2 separate regions of the Homo sapiens genome follow, and region 1 is linked to region 2. The links are contacts of gene promoters, found by promoter capture Hi-C in human tissues and cell types (Jung and others, 2019). All regions are on one chromosome and are shown on one strand. Each heading gives the region's core, a stretch centred on a gene start or on the middle of the fragment in contact. The rest is flanking DNA. Distances are from core to core; before and after follow the strand shown.

Region 1 (3,624 bases), core at 583-3,082, 340 kb before region 2:
TCTCAATCTCTTGACCTCGTGATCTGCCCACCTCGGCCTCCCAAAGTGCTGGGATTACAGGCATGAGCCACTGCGCCTGGCCCAAGCTGCCCTTCTAAACCATGGCCGTGCTGAGATTCAAACCCATGCCTGTCTGGTCCCACAGTTGGCAGTATTTCTGGCAGACACATCTGCCCCCTTGCTCCCAAGACCTCTTACCAACCAACCCTCAACACCAGCAGTCCTTATTAGGACCAGTTCTCAATTAGTACCCACTGCCTTCTCTGAAGAGCAGGGTGATCAAGTCAGTGATGCCTTCTGGGCCCAACATGTAGCCCCAGGCTGTGCACATAGTAGATGCTCAATGCCAGTTTGTCAAATTAACTCCAAGTCCTGACTTTTTCTCAAGATGGAAAGTGGAATGAGAAATACCAAATATCAAAGGAATAGAATATAGATTATTGGACTAGGGATGGTAACACACATCAACATAATATAAGGTTAATACCAATCTCCCAGTTCAACTCTCTGGGCCTATTTTCTTATCTGTATGCTGAGTGCATTACACTACAACATTGAGGCCCCTTCAGCTGTGATGTTCCATGAATAACTAAAATTAGCTACCATATATTAAGCTCTTTCTATGTGCCAGGTACTGTGTTATATACTTTGCATTCAATCCTCACAATAACCTTATGAAACAAGAACTGATTATGCTCCAACTTTATGGTTGACAAAACTGAAGTACAAAGAGAAGAAAGAGTTGCCTGGCCATTGAAGGGGATCAAAATATGCCATCCCAACATATGCCCCTTTTGCATAAGGATTATTTTGAGCTGAAGACAATTGAGAATCAACAGATGCAGAAAGAATTTTCTGCCTTCTCCTTTTCTACCCTGAAGCAGGACATAAATTCCCCTTTGTGAACATGTGCCTCCTCCCTGTCTACCATTAGTTTCCCCCATATATTCCCTAATCACTTCCCCATGATTTATCAGCCTTGAAGCTCAACACTCCCTTCTTTTGCTATAATGGGATAAAAGCCCTTGAGCCTAACCACTTATTTGAGTTTCACTTCTTTTCTATGAACTCTTGTGCACATAACTATTAATAAAAATTAATATGCCTTTTCTCCTGTTAATCTGTCTTTTGTCCATTTAATACACAGAACCCTCAGGTACTGAACCAGACAGGTTAAAGGAAAGTTTTGCCCCGACACCATCCAAGTAGCTCAGTTGTGAAGACAGGATTTGAACCCAGAATTCATCCAAAAGCCCATGTTCTTAACCACTAGGCCGTAGTGCCTTTCACTGAATACCTGTCCTCAAGAAGCTGGTGAAAATGCACATACATAATTATGAAACAAAGCAAAACATTTTAAATACTTTGTTGGTATAAGAAAGATAACAGGGCTGGGCACGGTGGCTCACGCCTGTAATCCCAGCACTTTGGGAGGCCGAGGCAGGTGGATCACAAGGTCAGGAGATCGAGACCATCCTGGCCAACGTGGAGAAACCCCGTCTCTACTAAAATACAAAAAAAATTAGCCGGGTGTGGTGACACGCACCTGTAGTCCCAGCTACTCAGGAGGCTGAGGTAGGGGAATCGCTTGAACCTGGGAGGTGGAGGTTGCAGTGAGCAGAGATCGTGCCACTGCACTCCAGCCTCGTGACAGAGCAGGACTCCATCTCAAAAAAAAAAAAAAAAAGAAAAGAAAAAGAAAAAGAACAGTGAGATTCTAGGATCACAGAAGGGATTGAGTCATTCTGATTGAGCAGTTGGGGAAGGCTGTTTTACAAGTAAGACCTATGCCCTGCAAAAGCAGGATAAAAACCTGTACATACTATTATGTGCACTAGCTCCTCATGTTTGAAGGCCAACAGAGATCAAATAAAATCCCTACTTGATGCAACTATTTAAAAAGCCCATGTCACATTCTTCATCCCTTGATTCTACCTCACAACAGCTCTAAGACAAGTTTGTTATCATTCTTCTACTGATAAGGAAATTGAGACTCAGAGACATGAACCGATTTTCCCAAAGTCACACAGCAAGCTAGTGACAGAGAGGAGCTTGGACCTCCATTTCCTGATTCACAAAAGGTGGTTCCTGAGCTTTTTGAAACTTGCAGGAGCCAGAGATATGTCCCACGGCAAGATCTCCTACCTAAATTGATCATCCTCAGTACGATGGCCACATCCCCACCCACTTAAATCCAGGGTCTGGCTAACAGAGATCTAAAAGCTGCTGGAAAAATTATCCTAGGATGCCAGAGAGTGCTTTCAAGCACCCTCTCCAGCTGCACATTGAATATGTAAAGCAGCAATAGCTCTAAGCAGAGAAGGGTAATTGAATTAATCAACTGTCTGGACATTTTGCAGATTAAAAGAAGTACTTAATGTCTTGTGACTTGCAGGAGGGGACGGTAAACTTTGCATCTCCCTTAAATGCAGTGAATTCACATTGAGAGCACAGAGCAGGAACTAGAGAAGGATGAACACAACACTTGTGGCAGCTGCAGTGCCTCCTTCCTTAAAGGGATAAATGACAGTCCCCTTTTCCTTGCATGTGTCCTCCTGTGTGTGTGACATGCCACCAAGTACACTGCACAGGCTGTGCCCTACACAAGCACATCCACCCAAAGGAGGAGTGGAGGCTGAAATTGAGTCCGTGCTGTGCTGGACAAGCTGTGAGTTTATCCCAAAGCAGGGATGCCTTTTTTCTAATTCACACAAAAGAACTATACATGCCAGTGACTCTTAGAGTCTAAAATATGCTTCCTTCCCCTTCTCTGTGAGTCCTAGGGTCCTCTGAACAACAGTTTAAGAGAAAGTTTTGGGACCCAGTTTGGGTAGATGTCCCACCTCTGGACTCCCAGCATACCCTGAGCTTATCATCATTGTGACATTTAGCTCTGTAATTGTTAACTTGGCTGCCACAGTGTGAACTCCTTGAGGCCAGGAGAGGCAATGTCAATATTTTATTTTCATTTCATTTTATTTTTTGAGACAGAATTTCACTCTTGCAGCCCAGGCTGGAGTGCAGTGGCACAATCTCGGCTCACTGCAACCTCCGCCTCCCAGGTTCAAGCCATTCTCCTGCTTCAGTCTCCCAAGTAGCTGGGACTACAGGTGTGCGCCACCATGCCCAGCTAATTTTTGTATTTTTAGTAGAAACAGCGTTTCACTGTAGTGGCCAGACTGGTCCTGAACTCCCAACCCAGGTGTTCTGCCCACCTCGGCCTCCCAAAGTGCTGGAATTACAGGCATGAGCCACCACACCTGGCCAATGTTAATATTTTAAATCAACTTTATTGAGATAGAATTTACACAAAATAGGTGTACCCACTTCAAGTATACATTCTGGTGAGTTTTGGCAAACTTACATACTCATGTAGCCATCATCAGAATCAAGAGATACAGAATAGCAGACTGGACGCGGTGGCTCATGCCTATAACCCTAGCACTTTGGGAGGCTGAGGCGGGCAGATCACTTGAGGCCAGAAGTTCAAGACCAGCCTGGCCAAAGTGGTGTTACCCCATCTCTACTAAAAATACAAAAATTAGCTGGGCATGGTGTTGTGTGCCTGTAATCCCAGCTACTCCAGAGGCTGAGATAGGAGAATCACTTCTTGAACCCAGGAGG
Region 2 (3,757 bases), core at 736-3,235:
ATGTGGATTGGTCAAGGTAGAGTGAGTCAGGAGCAGAGCTGAGTAGAAGCTCTTCAGGACTTAGGCCTCAGGCCTCAGCCCTCCAACTTCCAATCAGCTCCCTCCTCTGCCAGGTTTTGGAAGGAGGGAGAGGGGAAACCAGGAGACCCACTACCAGAGCCTGAGCTGAACCCTGACAATCCGCTTGATGGTAAAACCAGTGAACCTCTGCTCCTCCACCTCCTGGCTGGCCTTTCCACGGCCACAGCCTCTCCTCGCTATTCTCACAGCCTCCTCCTTTGTCGTCATGTTTGAACTTCTCACTTGCCTGATTCAGCTTTGCCACCTTCTTAAGCTGTAAAACCGCAAACAAAAGGTCATCACATGAGATAGTTTAAGGGCATATTTGCCAGGAAACTGACCAAAGCTGACCTAATCTGTTAGGCCTCAGTGTTCTCATTTGTAAAATAGGATCATAATAGTATCCACCCCTCTAAGTTGTGCTGAGGACCCAAGGGCAGAGCATTTGGCACACAGTAGGTGCATAATTGCTTAAAGAGGGATGTCCACAATAGTACTGATATCATGCCTTTCTGGGTTGTTAATATTTTAAGTATCATTAAATACACAAATATATATCGATCTCTTTGTCCCCTCCAAAAGGGTTCCCAGCAAACGGTCTGAGGTGATGAGCAATGCTGTGGAAGGAGAGATATTCGTCTAACAGTTTGTCATTCACCAAGAGGTTTATATTTGTTATTATAAGGACTTTTGTGATTATTATTCATTGGGCTTCATTAACAATTCTATGACACAGAAAACAGCTTTACAGACAAGCGAGCTGCGGCTTAGGGACATTAGCAGAGCACCAGACCACACAGTGAGACAGTGGCCTCACAGCCTCGAGGCTCTCCTCGGTGTGGATGGCTTTCCCCTGTGGGAGCTGATGCCTTTCTGTGGCTTCCTCTCCTTCCACCACAGCCAGAGGGGCAGTGTCAGGGAGTGTGAGAAAAGGGTGTGGAAACTGAGGCCCAGAGAAGAAAAGTCACCGCCTGAAGTCACAGGCTCCTCTGCCCCTCACCTCCCATCAGGGGTCCCTCCCTGGCACCCACTTTCTGCCCACCCTCCGCTCCTCCATCACCTCACCTCGGGTTCTCAGAGAGACAGCCTGCACAGCAGAGAGCCCTGGGCTCCTTTGGGTCCTGGCAGACGGTGGGAGGGCACCCAAAGGGAAACTCATTCTCATCAGGGGCCGGGCGAGGACTGCTGCCTGAGCTGGAGGCCATCTCAGGGTTCCAGGCTGGCCAGAGGGCCTGTTTAAGTTGCTCCAGGGCAGGGGACCAGCCTTGTGGAGTCCTGGCCTGGGCCTCACTCTCTGGTGAGTAGGAGCTCTGATGACTTTATCTTCTTCTCTCTGGCTTGTGTGGTTCAACGTCACAGCTGAGTCACAGCAGGGATGGAGCAGGAATTACCCTTTGTGGCGATAAAAATCCCCTGGATGGTGACTGAAGGCTTTAGGAGTGTCCAGTCATTTTTTTTTTTTTTTAGAGTGAGAAAAAGCAAGAGAGCAAGTCAGAGAAAATGACCCGTGTCACAGACTCTCAGAAAGCACAGTGAGAGTTCCCCTGGTTGAGAATCGCAGGCTGCCGCTGGCTTCCCCCACTTCCCTGGGCACATCGGAGGAGGGGGCCACAGCTGGTCCCTGGTCTGTGTTCCCTGGCACCTCTGAGCAGCCTGGAATTCTCAGTGGGGGTGCTCACCTTCCTGGTGGAAATCCCCAGGGTGTTGGAGACAGGTCCAAAATTTCAAGTTCTAGGCGCTTTTGCTCTGCTCTGTTTGGAGTGTCTGGGTGACCTCAAGGAGAAGTCACTTCCTCACAGTGGGTTCTGATGACTCCATCTGTAAAAAAGAAGTTGCAACAGGTGGCCTCTGGGCTGTAAGATTCTGGGACCCTATCTTGCCTGGGACTGAGGCAACCAGAAGGAGCAGGAAAGCCCTGATGAAATCCAAGGCCTAGGACCACAGACTCCTCAGGGCCCTCCCCACACCACCCCACTCAGGAAGTCATAGGTGGCTACATGCTCCGGTCAGGTGCCACCACTTTACTGCCTCAAGGAGAACAAAGCGCTAAACAAATGCAAGATCACAGCAGCTGGTCTCAGCATCCAAGTGGGATGTAGATCCACATTTGCAGGAAAAGTGCACTGGGGAAACGATGGCTCCCAGAATGTGTACTGTGTGCTGGGCAACAGTTTCCCTCCAAATCCTTACAGCAACCTGCAAGGAATTCTTCTGCAGCTGTATATAGGGTCAGAGAAGCAAGATGCCTGGTCCAAAGGCACACAGCCTCTGGTAGTGGAGTGGGATTCACACCAGGGCTGTGGGGCCCCAAGCTCTGTGTGCTTGGGATGGAGATCAGAGTACCCAGCTCTTGTCTCATCTATCAAATGGAGAAGACAATCCCTACACATCTTTCCATCCTGCTTGGCTGCTACAGAGGTTTTGCAAACTTTCACAGTGGTTTCAGATCATGGGTTTTGAGGTCAGACAGAGCTGAGTTGAAATCCTGGGTCCACTGCTTACTAACTGTGGGCCCTGGGACAAAGTCCTTAACTTCCCTGAAACTCAGATTCTGCATCTGTAAAATGGGACAATAATACCTATTTCACCCATTTGTTGTGATGACTAAATGAGATAGTGGGTCAAAGTGTGGTGTGTAACCCAAGTGAAGTACTTGAATGACATTTGGCTCAGATGGTGACTACAGGCCTTCCAGCTCCTCAGAGAAAAGGATTAAAGTGGTGCATTATGCTTATACTGTGCTTTCACGTCTATCTACTGGAGCCTCAACAGGTGGGCAGGGCAGGTCATCTGGCCTGAGATACATTAAACTGCCCACCTGCCCTGGTGTAACACCAGGGCTGCCACAGGCTGGTGGCAAAGACAGCACGGCATCTTACCGCCACAATGTACATCAGGACCTCCACCCCCATAACAAACGACCTCCAGGCCTGCATCAAGACTATCAGAAGACACTCCCTTTTAACTGTGTACCCCATACCTGCAAGCTTTCCTGCAGCCAGCCCTACCTGTTCCCTCCTTCCCCTGGTTTGGGATAAAACAGGCACCCAAGACTTCTCTCCCCATCTGTGGGTCCCTTCTCTCCCCTCCGGCCTCAATACCACCCTCTCTACCTGCTCATTCCCACGGACATCAAAACGTGCGCAACCTGCTCTAATAAGAAAAGGGAAAAATAGTACTACTTTTGGGTACCGTCTTACGTAATTTTACAGACATCATCTCATCTAATTTTCACTCTGTGAAGCAGGTATTGCCATCATCATCCCCACCTTACAGATGAGAAAACTGAGGCACAGAGAGGCTAAGCGACTTGTTCAAGGTCTCACAGCTAGTGAGTGGGGACCCCTGAACCCAGAGCCAGTCCTGTAACCACGCACGCTTTTAAAACACTCTTTATTCTCGTCTCCAATTTCTACATCTACTCTCGCCTCACCTAACGGTAGAACTTCTAGAAAAGATTGTCTATACAGGCACTTGGATCTCCAGGGAATCATCTCTCCAAGTGTATACGCATGTCGGGGACGCCAAATGCCCTGGGCCCGCCCCAGTTTCTATCCAACCAGCCCTCCTGCCAGCACCTGACCCGGCTCTCAGCCCTTCCTTCCGGAATCCCTTCCTTTCCCCGGCTTCCCGCATCCTCTGCGGGGAATTCCCCCCGCGTCTCTGGTGGCTCCTTATCCGTCTCCTTGACCCCTTT

The links. Contacts are between HindIII fragments. The study calls those that stand out against the background at their distance.
Region 1: a fragment that was not itself captured here is called in contact with the fragment with the promoter of TRAF1 in region 2 in 2 of the 25 tissues and cell types used here (dorsolateral prefrontal cortex and hippocampus).

The regions. Positions count from the first base shown.
Region 1 is chr9:120,585,102-120,588,725 of GRCh38, forward strand. No RefSeq gene overlaps it. Among named protein-coding and RNA genes, the nearest start is that of CDK5RAP2, 6.7 kb to the left of the region's middle. The HindIII fragment of the contact is 7,435 bases long and covers 1-3,624 here.
Region 2 is chr9:120,924,811-120,928,567 of GRCh38, forward strand. It overlaps TRAF1 (TNF receptor associated factor 1), which reads right to left and starts at 1,986. Exons shown (of 8, transcript NM_005658.5): 1 at 1,740-1,986; 2 at 1,126-1,491. The coding sequence starts at 1,265. RefSeq lists enhancers at 615-1,138, 735-804, 1,265-1,604, 1,945-2,264. The HindIII fragment of the contact is 9,494 bases long and covers 1-3,757 here.